Linked DNA regions of Homo sapiens: regions 1, 2 and 3 are each linked to region 4. Evidence: promoter capture Hi-C in 16 types of primary human blood cells and fetal thymus (Javierre and others, 2016). All regions are on one chromosome and are shown on one strand. Each heading gives the region's core, a stretch centred on a gene start or on the middle of the fragment in contact. The rest is flanking DNA. Distances are from core to core; before and after follow the strand shown. Region 1 has its middle 24 kb from the start of CD180. Region 2 overlaps MAST4 (microtubule associated serine/threonine kinase family member 4). Region 3 holds the start of TAF9 (TATA-box binding protein associated factor 9). Region 4 holds the start of PIK3R1 (phosphoinositide-3-kinase regulatory subunit 1).

Region 1 (2,975 bases), core at 77-2,576, 1.0 Mb before region 4:
CCACGTGTCAAGGGAGAGACGAGGTGGAGTAACTGAATCATGGGGGCAGTTTCCCTCATGCTGTTCTCATGAGAACTGATGGTTTTATAAGGGGCTCTTCCCCACCCTTCGCTCAGCACTTCTTTCTGCCGCTGTGTGAAGAAGGTGGCTTGCTTCCCCTTTGCCTTCTGCCATGATTGTCAATTTCCTGAGGCCTCCCCAGCCATGCTGAACTACGAGTCAATTAAACCTCTTTCCTTTATACATTACCCAGTCTTGAGCAGTTCTTTATAGCAGTGTGAGAACGGACTAATACATTTGCTGGACCGAATTGAACAAGAAAGGAAGTATTAGTAGTCGCTACTGTTTGTAGCACATTTACTAGAAGCCAAGTAACACACTAAATACTTTATTTCCATCTTCTTATTTAATCTCCGTGCCATTTGAACTATACGTTGCTTCATTTTATAAATTAGGAAGCCAAAACTTGGAAAGAGGTTAAGTGACTAACCCTCGTGATTGGCAGGACTGAGGCTTGAACTCAAGCGATCTGACTGGACAGCCCATACATTTAACCTCTACCATTAGACGAGACCTTCTTCCTCCCACACACTATTCTACTACAATATAAATTGCAAGATGAAATGGGACAGAATCATGACAGTGTTTTTCACTGCCTGCGTGATGTAGTTTTCCCTGCTTAGAGGAACCCACTCTGCTAAGATTCACAGTTTTTAAAAGTAAGTATGGAAATGGTCATTTTAATGGGACTTGGTATCATGCTATGCAGAAAAGTCGGTCTTCACCATAAAAGAAAAAACCCACAAAGGATATTAAGTACACACATCACAGAGCCAATAATGGCCATAGCAAGAGCTATTAAGTGAACAACCAGTTTAGAGCGAATACATAAAAGAAACTTTAAATGAAAAGCAAGAGATTGAAGTTTTAAAGGTATTTACCTTGAGCTCGACCAGGTAAAACTAATGAGGTCATTAAAGGGCAAACAATTAGACATGCTCTTGTGGGTCTGTCCAGTCTGGGGCACAATTTCTTGTACTGTATTTTCAGCATCCACGTAGTGTTATCTTATTTGGGATTTTAAAAAATTGAAATGTAGCTAAATATGTGTTTGGGTGTATAATATTTCCCTAATAAACTGAGGGCTACCTCTTTTAAGCCCAAGGCATTTTTTTAAAGAGACATGGGTTGCCCATGCTGGCCTCAAACCCCTGGGCTCAAGGGATCCTCTCTGCTCAGCCTCTCGAGTACCTGGGACTACAAGGGTGCCCAGCTCTTCAAGGCATTATTTTTCCTTCTTTATAACAATGTAAGCACAATGTGATGCAGCCTACAAAAATTACAAGTTCTCGTAAATTTGTTTCAGTTCATTGTAGATTCTGTATATTAGCCCTTTGTCAGATGAGTAGGTTGCGAAAATTTTCTCCCATTTTGTAGGTTGCCTGTTCACTGACGGTAGTTTCTTTTGCTGTGCAGAAACTCTTTAGTTTAATTAGATCCCATTTGTCAATTTTGGCTTTTGTTGCCATTGCTTTTGGTGTTTTAGACATGAAGTCCTTGCCCATGCCTGTGTCCTGAATGGTAATGCCAAAACAAACAACCCCATCAAAAAGTGGGCGAAGGACATGAACAGACACATCTCAAAAGAAGACATTTATGCAGCCAAAAGACACATGAAAAAATGCTCACCATCACTGGCCATCAGAGAAATGCAAATCAAAACCACAATGAGATACCATCTCACACCCGTTAGAATGGCAATCATTAAAAAGTCAGGAAACAACAGGTGCTGGAGAGGATGTGGAGAAATAGGAACACTTTTACACTGTTGGTGGGACTGTAAACTAGTTCAACCATTGTGGAAGTCAGTGTGGCGATTCCTCAGGGATCTAGAACTAGAAATACCATTTGACCCAGCCATCCCATTACTGGGTATATACCCAAAGGACTATAAATCATGCTGCTATAAAGACACATGCACACGTATGTTTATTGTGGCATTATTCACAATAGCAAAGACTTGGAACCAACCCAAATGCCCAACAATGATAGACTGGATTAAGAAAATGTGGCATATATACACCATGGAATACTATGCAGCCATAAAAAAGGATGAGTTCATGTCCTTTGTAGGGACATGGATGAAATTGGAAATCATCATTCTCAGTAAACTATCGCAAGAACAAAAAACCAAACACCACATATTCTCACTGATAGGTGGGAATTGAACAATGAGAACACATGGACACAGGAAGGGGAACATCACACTCTGGGGCCTGTTGTGGGGTAGGGGGAGGGGGGAGGGATAGCATTGGGAGATATACCTAATGCTAGATGACGAGTTAGTGGGTGCAGCGCACCAGCATGGCACATGTATACATATGTAACTAACCTGCACATTGTGCACATGTACCCTAAAACTTTAATAATAAAAAAAAAATTACAAGTTCTGCCTTTTGGAGGTGGCATGATGTGGGGACATGGGGCAAGACTATCAAGAGGACCAGAGAATTCATGAACTAGAGATAGGAATTAAAGTAGGGAGAAATCACTTCTAAAAATAGTACTAACCCTCCCACAGGGGGCAATGGCAGCTTCCCTTGGCTGTTGAGCACTGAACTGCCAAGCATTTACAAGAAGAAAAGGGGTTGGCTTGAAGACTTCAGGTGAGGCAGCACATCTCAGCTCTAACATGCACATGATTCATGTGGGATCTTGCTAATTCTGGTTCAGAAGGCCTATGATAGCGCAGAAAATTCTAACAAGCTCTTCTCAAATGACTCAGATGCTGCCTGCCTGTTGACCACATGAATGCCCTGCCTGGCCACACCAGGGAGTTAGAATCTCTGAAGATTGGGCCTAGGCATCTATAATTAAAAAATAATAAAATAACTTCCACAGGTGATTCTAATGTGCATGCAAGGTTGAAAAGCAAAAACAAATTTCCCAGGTAGAGGATGATACTTGACTCATTC
Region 2 (3,026 bases), core at 201-2,700, 1.1 Mb before region 4:
GATTCCTCTCCCAGCCGAGATTCCTCAGCAGCTTCTGCCAGTCCACATCAGCCGATTGTGATCCACAGTTCGGGGAAGAACTACGGCTTTACCATCCGAGCCATCCGGGTGTATGTGGGAGACAGTGACATCTATACAGTGCACCATATCGTCTGGGTAAGACCTGCATGTCTCGCACTTGGGATTTTTCATTTCCAGCCAAGCTGGAGAGTGGATAGGTTGGCTGATAAATAGCAAATATATTTACTTTTAAGCTTGCATTTGCGACCTGTTTCATTTTCCTTTTAGAGCTCCATCCCTGTATGTGTATGGTGGAATTGAATTTAGCAAAAACGAATATCTCATAATTCTGTCCAGTTTTCATATTCGATTGTTCTTTCTTACATACCAAGCTGGTAGACATAGTCAAAGGCAATCCTATTTCCATCCTTCTTTTATTTTATCATTTTTTCCTAGCCTTCTTTTTAAAAATGACCTTCTCAAATCACCTGAAATGTTTTGGTCATTCATTTTTTTTTCTTTGTGGCTCTGGTACTTTCAGTCTGAATCACCTGAAAATTTCTAAGTACCATAGAAAGTTTCCTATTTTAGAATAATGATAGAATAGGAATAGTAAACGTACCTGTTAGATTTTCTATTAGAGGCTTAGGACATTTGCTAATTAACTCATTATTCTCCCAGAAGACACAGTAGGTGTTAGAGTAGTCATTTGTTTGCCTACAAATATCCTCTCCTCTTGGACTTTAGAATGTAGAAGAAGGAAGTCCGGCATGCCAGGCAGGACTGAAGGCTGGAGATCTTATCACTCACATCAATGGAGAACCAGTGCATGGACTTGTCCACACAGAAGTTATAGAACTCCTACTGAAGGTATTGTATGTTTTATGTCAGGGCCATGCTGATGAGACAGGCAGCCCAAAGGGGCTAGTACCAGGAGATTGATTTCCCTGTGTCACACCCATGTCTGATTACTGAGAAAGTATTCATTAGTCTCAAGTTTAAAGACAAAGATATTATGAATTCTCTGGTTTTATGTCATGAAATAATGTCCTTATATCTGCATACTCATTCCCTAATTTAATTTTGCTTCTCATTCTAAATTGTAAGTAGTAAGAATTCTCTTTGTTTATATACCTTACACAGTGACATCTATTTGGAGAGTCACCTATCCTGAAGGTGACTTCCTTCAGGAACTTCTAACAGGTTTCATTCTAGTATACTAGAAGACAAAATTGTATTAAACTGTGAGGTTTGATCTGAAGGTTTAGTCTGAGAATTAGAGTTCCTTTGAAAGATAAAATTGTAAATATATACACATGTACTATAAATTATAAAAAATAAGTGGTACTGAAAGAAGAAGTTCTAGCAATTATTAGGCCTCCCTCCCCACCATACAAATTAACTTAAACAGGGATCAATTTCTACTTAAAATGTAAGCAGAATATAGCCTATGGAGTAAGAAGGTCACAGGAAGCATGACTGTAAATGGAGAGAGAGAAAGGACACACACTGATCCTCTCAGATAGCTCTCAGATAGTTCTGTTCAGTTATTTGATTTGTCTTTTTCATTCTTTATAGCAGCGTTGTATTTTATGCAGAACAGCTCCTGCGACAGCATATCTCTAGATAGTATCATATGTCTGTTCACAACATTAGAATAAGAAATAATACACTGAAATGTATATATTGAGAAGTATACATTTGCTTATTTTGCTGAGACATAATTGATCACTTTCGTGATTTATTTTGTAAAGTATTTTAATAGAATTCTGTATTTTAAAACTTCTCTTCCTGCTTCTATGAAATTTGAATGTGTATTTCCCCTAGAGGACTCTGGCAAGGTCTCTTAGCAGACTCAGATGATCCCATTTCTATTGTCTTGCCCTCATCTGGCTACGGAGCACCTTGCACAACCCAAAGCCTTCATTTCTGGATGCAGTCGATGTGTGTCACTGAAACTGCTTAAACAGTGGAGTGGAGAGCCATTGGCACCCTTTGAAGCCACGGTGTACTCTGTCACAAATCCAAAGAACATCCTGCCTGTGTTCATAAAGGAAGCACTCAAGAGGAGTAAGCAATGTCATGAAACCAAGAGGATACAAGGGATTTAATTATCTTCCCAGTGAACTGTGTAATCATGCAGCTTCCTTCCAAATTTAACCAGTGACTCTTGAAATCAGAGTATTAAGTGACTAGTGTCAGTGCTGGGCTCCTGTGTGCCTTCATTGGTTTAACAGCAGGGAAGTTGGCTGTATTATGGTACTCTCGAATGCTGTTTACACAGTGTTTTATACTTGCAAAGGACTTTACGGAATGTCATGGCAGTCTTAGAGAAAGGTGGAGAAGTCCTGACAGGGGTGTAGGTGTATGTTTAGAACTGCATGACTACCTGTATAGTGTTTGTCTTTTGGATTATGAATATAGTAAGCATTTTCCATGTTTCATAGATTCACATATTTGGTCTTGTTTACCTTCACAACTTCAAAGTGAACCTGCTATGGGAGCACTATCTTCCATGCATAGGCAAACTTGTCCAAAGTCACTCAGCATCCTCGATCCATGGAATTATAAAATGTGATGGTTATCCAGTTCAGCTCCCCACTGGCTATATGAATCCCTGACAGTGTCCTCCTTCAGCTTCACCTCAAAGCTTTCCTGCCATGAGGAAAGCTTTTAGACAGCATCAGTCTTTCTAAAAACAACTTTTTAAGTAGACCGAGGTCATTCTTCACCCACTAGCATTACAGGTGGAGACGATACTTGGCCCAGTCCCATTACCTGTTCCAATTAGCCAGGCTTAACTTCTGTGATCTAAGAAACTTTCTTTTCAACCAAGTTGCTTTTTAAGTATAGCATTAGTTTAAATCCCCAATGCATAGGAGAAGCCGTAAAACTTTACCAGCCTCTGCTTCAGAAATTTCCTTTCCATGGACACTGGGGAGCTTCAGTGTACTAAAATGGGGGCCATCAAATAGCTTGATTACCATCCTCCCATATCTGTCAAGCCGCTGATGTGCACAGAGCTG
Region 3 (3,078 bases), core at 579-3,078, 1.2 Mb after region 4:
ACAGGTATGCACCACCATGCCCTGGTTAATTTTTGTAGAGACGGGGTTTGGCTATGTTGCTTAGGCTAAGCTCAAACTCCTGAGCTCAAGCGATCTCCCCACCTCCACCTCCCAAAGTGCTGGGATTTACAGGCATGAGCCACCCACCTGGCCTATTTGCTTTAACTTATAAAGATTTAAAAACTGTTCATGGCCACGTGTGGTGGCTCGCGCGTGTAATCCCAGCAATTTGGGAGGAGAAGGCGGGAGGATCGCTTAAGCGCAGGAGTTCGAGACCAGCCTGGCCAACATAATGAGACTCTGTCTCAAACAAAAACAAAAACAAGAACAAAAACAAAACTGTTCATGTTAAAATTAAGCAGTCTGAAAATTACCTCTACTGACCCCTTGCGCCCTTCCCTAGAGATAACCACTGTAAACCAGTTTCCTTTCCCAAAGAAACCCTATTTATGTTTGCATGTAAATGTACATATATGTACATACTCTTTGTTATATAAATACAACACATATTCCCTTTTACATAAATGACAATACTATATACATTGTTCTTTACCTTCCCCTTCTGATACCTATTAAAATTACATTTCAAGATCATCAAATTCATAATTTTCAGCTATTCAGATTTAACATCCCTGAAATTAAACTTAAGCATAAAGATAACAGGGATAATCCAGTTCCCATACCCAGGAGAATAACGGTCACCTCAAGTCCACTATAATACACCAAGTCTGAACCCTGGACTCAACATGTTTTCAATAAAATGTTCACTTTAAAGTTTTGACAATGACTTAATAACCAGGGCACTATGTTTGATCCATGCAAAAAGATGTAAAATCTTCCGCTTAAGGAATCTAAAATTCTAAACGTTATTTGTGGGGTGGTTAATCTGCACCTCTCAGAAACAGACATGTCTTGTGCGCTGCCAACAATTTTACCTTTGGGTGAATGATGTAACTTTACTGTTCCCACAAAGAGTCTTAATTTTTCTGTACCTTGCAATAAAATCTACATGCATTAGATTTTTCCACGAATGGCCTACAATTTGATAAACACTTTCAGGACTAAACGGCTAGCAAAAATATTCGTTAAAGTCGTTATGCAGCATTTTAATTCCCTTCACTGATAACATGCACCCTGAGTATGGCTTCAAAGACCCACTCCTACGCGAGAAACGACCCGAAATGCTCTATATGCCTTCCTTTTAAGGGGCGGGGGGATCCTTTGATGTAACTCAACAAAAGCATACAGCAATTTCGTCACGTCACAAACATCTGAACTCGTTTACCGAAATCTAATCTGAGGCGTTTATCAGAAGCAAAGAAAAAATAAAATACGGCCCACGGAGGCCTAAGGAGTGAGGCATCCACCATTAATGACTCTACCGGGAAGCAGATATGGCCTTACGTTATTTCGCTAAAAATCCCAAGGCCAACCCTGCCAAAGAATCAACAACCCATTTTACAAACGAAATACCAGATTCAGAAAGACTAAGCAGGTTGCCAAGCTGGAGAGCTGGATCTGCCGACCTCTCTCCACCCCCCCCCGCCCCCCCCCGGAGCCTCAGGCCAACGGAATTAACGTTCCGCGTCCCCTCCCTCGCCTCCCGCAACGCCCGCGAGGGTCGGCTCCCGGGGCGCTGACAACCGCCTCGTGGCCCTCGGCCGGCCTCTGAAGAGGGCAGTGAGGGGCCCCCACCTGGGCGCCCGATGCCCAGAGCACTCTGCGCCCCCAGCCTGCCCCAGCCCAGTCCCTCCCGGCCGCGCGCCCTGACCGGTGAGCAGGATGTTCGGAAGCAACATGGTCCCCGCCGCGACGGCTTCGGGCGCCTCGCTCACGTGCCCTTTGCTCTACAGGGAGGAGCCGGAAGGGGCGGGCGGCAGCAAAAGCCCACGGCCCCAAAGGCCCCGAAGCCCACCGCGGCGCCCCTAGCCTGCCCCGGCGGCCCAGCCGCGGCCCACTGGTTACCTGGCTTTCGATGACACATTTCCGTCGCAAAGTTGGAGGGTGGGCATAACTCGGGTCGGTACTTCGGGTCAGGCAGTGCGCTGGATGCCTAAGTCACACACTCCTTCGGTGGTCCCCGCCCTTCGCTTGCGCCGACCAGTCTGGAAGGTCCCCGGGAGGCCGTACCTCCGAGAGGCTCGGCGTTGAGCCCGGGTAGGGCCAGGTGGCTGCCCTTTCACCTAGGGTAGTCCCTGGTCGCCTCCGCTCTTCGCCTAAAAGGGGATGCAGCTCCGGGAAAGTAAGGCCGCCGCGGTTGCGGCTATATTATGTATATGTCTTAGAGACGTGAGTCTATCTCTGCCTTCAAGCTTTCCTGGGCTCTCGTCGCTCCTCCTCCCGACCCGCCCATCCCATCTGGGGATGAGAAGATTGAGGGTGCAGAGCCCTGTCCTGCAGCGGGGATTTGCGAGCTCAACCCGGCACCCCACTGATTACAGGATTACGTTGGACGAATATTTGAGCTTAGTATTCCCTGTTCACTGTGTGGGGTGGTGGTGGGTCGGCTAGGAATAGTCTTGAAGGTCTACCTCTGACATCTCATTTCAGTAACCTCGCATCTTCAGGGACAGTTATCTGCTTTTTAAAGGAGGTAATTGTCAATCTTGTTTTCAAGAGTGAATAGAGACCTGACCGTGACAACAGTCTGCACCTTTTTTTGTTTGTTTGTTTGTTTTTGTTTTGTTTTGAGACGGAGTCTCACTCTTGTCGCCCAGGCTGGAGTGCAACCTCCGCCTCCTGGGTTCAAGTGATTCTCCTGCCTTAGCCTCCAGAGTAGCTGGGATTACAGGCGCCCACCACCACGCCCGGCTAATTTTTGCATTTTTAATAGAGACGGGGTTTCACCATGTTTTGGCCAGGCTGGTCTCAAACTCCTGACCTCAGATGATCCGCCCGCCTCGTCCTCCCACGGTGCTGGGATTACAGGCATGAGCCACCGCGTCCGGCCCCTGGTCTGCATCTTTTATTTCGAGCTACAAACTATATTTACTCAAATAGGTGTTTTTTTTCCACCTGTATACCTTTTGAAACGTCACAGTCTCTAATCGTGAACGATTTGGGGCGGAGGGCTGAACA
Region 4 (3,349 bases), core at 142-2,641:
GTAGCTGCCTGTTTTTGTGTCGCCTCTGCAAGAGACATCTTGGAATAATAGAAACACCAGTGTCTGAATAGCCTAAAGTGGAGCTTACTTTTCTGTTAGGTGAGTCACCTTTAAAAATGATATTTTTTAAGGATAAGCGATGAATTTTAGGACGTTCTTCCCTCTACTTCCAACGTCCACAAGAATAAACCACCAAATTCAACGTTTTACAGAGGCCAAGTGCTTAGGTTTTGTGTGTTTGTTTTTAAGAGTTTTCTTGCAAGGAAACTGGGAGGGAACTATAAAAGGGCTTTAGGCAAACAGGGTGGGCGGGTGCAGGGCTTTAAGCTGCAGAAAGGAGAATCTGGAAAGAGCTTTTAGGAAGCAGATTCTCACATGTTTTAATATGAAAGAGTGGCACACGTGGTGCTGGCATTCCATCTTACCATCAGTGGAAGGTTTGAACCAACATCAAATTTTTCTGGAGCAACTTAGGTAATTATTACTTGAAGAATATGCATTTCAAAACTAACACCTTTAAGAGACAATGTAATTCACCTGCGCTTCCCCGCCCCCCCCGCCCGCGCCAACCCCACCCCCCGCCAACCCCGCCCCCGACTCCGCGAACGCCGAGGGGCCCGTGGTCTGCCTGAGTGACCTCCATTTGCTCTGTCATCTCAGGACTAGAAGCCATCAGCCAGCGTACGCCCTCAGAAAACTCTCTTCCCTTCTCGCGGGTCCGCCTGGCTCCCGGAGGCGGCGGTGCCAGGCTGCCGGAGTTAGCCAGCGGCAGGCTGCGGGCGCCCGTCCCTCCGGTTCACCCTTTCACCCCTCCTTCACCCCCGGAGCGCCAGGCGGGTGCCGCGGGTTTTCCGCCCACTCGGAAGGCAGTGCTGGCGAGACCAGGAATTGCAGGGCCTCTCCGCTTTGGCGAGCTCTGGAATCCGAGTCCTCCCCACCCCAGCCACTCTGCTGGGGCGCTAGGGGCTCGAAAAAGCCTGGGGTTGGCTGAAAGACACTCGGATTAGAGACGCAGCCAGCCTCCAGGGAGGTCTGAACTTGTCTTCGACCTCCCCGAACCCCTCCGCCTCTGCGCTGGGAGACGCCCAGCAGCCGGGCGGGCCCGGGACGTGTAGAGCCAGAGCACTCCGCAGCGGAGGCAGCGCGCGGCACGGCCGCCCGGGGCATCCCCGCGGCTGGGGGGCGGAAGGCGAGGGCGGTGGCAGGAAGGGTCCGCCAGGCCTGAGCTCGCTCCCCCACTGCCAGCCGCCGGCTCGGAGGCCCGAGCCGTGCGGACGGAAAGGGGCGGAGCCGCGGGCTCTGGTTGGTGTGGGCTCGGGGGCGGGGCGCGCGGGGCCGGGCCGGAGGCGGGGCTAGCGCCGGGCGCTGGAGCTGCGGGCGCACGGAGAGGAGTCGCCAGCAGCTGGAGCGGAGTTGGAGGAAGCAGCGGCAGCGGCGAGGGCGGCAGGCTAGCTGTCGGAGACGGCAAGCACGGATCGGGCACGGCCGGCGGGTCGCAGCCGGGCTGGAGGCCGGTCGGAACCGAGCGGGCAGGAGGCCACCGCTGCAGCGCGGGCCCCGCAGAGGAAGGAAGCCGGCGGGCGGGGTAGGTAGGCAGCAGCAGCCCCGGGTGTGTGTGCTCGGGCGGGGGAGGCGGTGCATGTGTGCACGGCTGCCGCGACTCTCTTCCTGTCACTGGCAGCGGCTTCTCCTTCTGCAGAGCCCCGCCGGGGGGAAGCGGGCTGGCCACCGGCCCTCCCCGCCTCCGGCATCTCCTGGCCGCCGGGCAGCACTACCCCCGCGCGCGGCCGGCGTCCTGTGAGATCCCCGCCATCCTGACTCCCGTTTCCCCCGTCCTCCTGCGAGCTGGTCCTGCACGCCGCCGGTCGCATTTGCCCCCGGAGTTGCCGACGAGCTCGGGCTTCCTCCCACCCTCCGTCACCGCACACTTCGGAGGGTCCCCGCTGTCGCCTTGCTGCAGTTTTCCGGGGCCCCTCACCGGAGGAGAGCGCCCTGGCCGCTGCCTTCGTGTTGCGGGAAGGAGCGCTCCCTTCCCCCGTGGCCCTCCAGCTGCAGCCAGGGTCGCTGCCCGGGCCCTTCCCGGGGCGGGCGAGGCGGCGGTGGTCCCCGGAGCTCGTCCCCTAACCCCCGCCTTCCGAAGTTTGCCGCCCTCCTCTTCCGGGGTGGGGGAAGTGCGCCTCGGGGCGGTTGGTCGCTGGGGCCCTAACTCAGCGTTTATTGCCAGCCAAGCTTGGGCAGGTTGTTGGAGGCATATTTAGTGGGGTCTTGGAACCGCCCGGAAATCCAGCTTTTGGAACGTGGGGCGAGGCGGGAGGGACCTGCCCAGCAATATGGAGCCGGCTGGGGAGAGCCAGGGAGCCTGCAACCCGGAGCTAAAATATCGTGGGCAATTCTCTGGAAACCACAGCTCTAACCTAAGCTCAGAAACTGCCCCTCAGATCACAAGACAAAGAGAACAGAAAACCTCTGGCCAGGCACTCCTGTACAGAAATACACTTTGATAACCAGAATTGGAGCCTGAAATGCAAGGATATATGCAGAATGGCTGTTACGTGTTGAATGCAGAATGTGTGTCAACTGGGTTTGGGGGAATTCTTCTGTTTCCCGGGGCGCTATTAATATCGGAAAGGTCTCACTTCCACCGTTAATCCCTTGAGCTGCAGCGCTGTTGGTGTCCGAGTGTGAGTCTGCTCTTTATTTGGGGGCTTCATGATTTTAGGTTTTTTTTCTTTTTTCTCTTCTTTTCCTCTTTGTCAGCCAGTGCGAAGTACCAATGGATAAAGCAGTTCCGGGTTTTGAATGCAACATAAGATTGTCATTTTGGTGTGATGAGGCTCAAGTTTTAGTAATCAGGAGGGATATTCACAGAGCTTATTGGTCAAGGCTTGATGTGGAGTTATATTTTAATGCTTCATTAGTTCTGTTACGTTTTGGCAACCTTAAAGATGGTTAGATATTAGCTAGGAAGGGTTGGAGTGGGCAGACAGGTTCATTTCTTAAGCAGGTTATTAGAATATTAGATTGTCACAGTTTGAATTACTAGGAATTTGGTGACTTCTGCACAGAAGGCCACAAGTATCTTTTAACATTGAAAAAGGAAGAAAAAGCAACTCACTAGCTATACAACTTTTTGACAGATTACACTGTTCTTGAAAAACCGTTTAGAAGAAAGCAGATAAGAGTTTTCTTAGGTGCAAAAGTTGATTAAACTTTAGGAAGCAAGTGTTTTTGACCAGTATAAAGAAAATAAGAGTAATGTGTGGGGGTGTGTGTGTGTGTGTGTGTGTGTGCGCGCGCGTGCCTGCGGCTAAAGTTTGGGAAGAAATGTTGGTTCAGAGTTAAGGTTTAA

The links. Contacts are between HindIII fragments. The CHiCAGO score rates a contact against its expected background, and 5 or more counts as called.
Region 1: a fragment that was not itself captured here is called in contact with the fragment with the promoter of PIK3R1 in region 4 in 6 of 17 cell types (naive B cells, monocytes, non-activated CD4 T cells and 3 more); the score reaches 7.5 in naive B cells.
Region 2: a contact is called between a fragment that was not itself captured here and the fragment with the promoter of PIK3R1 in region 4, in 1 of 17 cell types (naive B cells). The highest score is 5.3, in naive B cells.
Region 3: the fragment with the promoter of TAF9 here is called in contact with the fragment with the promoter of PIK3R1 in region 4 in 1 of 17 cell types (fetal thymus); the score reaches 5.6 in fetal thymus.

The regions. Positions count from the first base shown.
Region 1 is chr5:67,171,436-67,174,410 of GRCh38, forward strand. No RefSeq gene overlaps it. Among named protein-coding and RNA genes, the nearest start is that of CD180, 24 kb to the right of the region's middle. The HindIII fragment of the contact is 3,845 bases long and covers 1-2,975 here.
Region 2 is chr5:67,152,711-67,155,736 of GRCh38, forward strand. It overlaps MAST4 (microtubule associated serine/threonine kinase family member 4), which reads left to right. Exons shown (of 29, transcript NM_001164664.2): 25 at 1-156; 26 at 748-870. Among named protein-coding and RNA genes, the nearest start is that of CD180, 43 kb to the right of the region's middle. The HindIII fragment of the contact is 2,396 bases long and covers 253-2,648 here.
Region 3 is chr5:69,367,692-69,370,769 of GRCh38, forward strand. It overlaps TAF9 (TATA-box binding protein associated factor 9), which reads right to left and starts at 1,829. Exons shown (of 3, transcript NM_003187.5): 1 at 1,772-1,829. AK6 (adenylate kinase 6) reads right to left here and starts at 1,829. Exons shown (of 5, transcript NM_016283.5): 1 at 1,772-1,829. The coding sequence starts at 1,799. RAD17 (RAD17 checkpoint clamp loader component) reads left to right here and starts at 2,127. Exons shown (of 19, transcript NM_133338.3): 1 at 2,127-2,242. RefSeq lists an enhancer at 2,381-2,930. The HindIII fragment of the contact is 4,867 bases long and covers 1-2,310 here.
Region 4 is chr5:68,214,365-68,217,713 of GRCh38, forward strand. It overlaps PIK3R1 (phosphoinositide-3-kinase regulatory subunit 1), which reads left to right and starts at 1,392. Exons shown (of 16, transcript NM_181523.3): 1 at 1,392-1,585. RefSeq lists silencers at 569-788, 1,009-2,108. The HindIII fragment of the contact is 2,835 bases long and covers 1-2,227 here.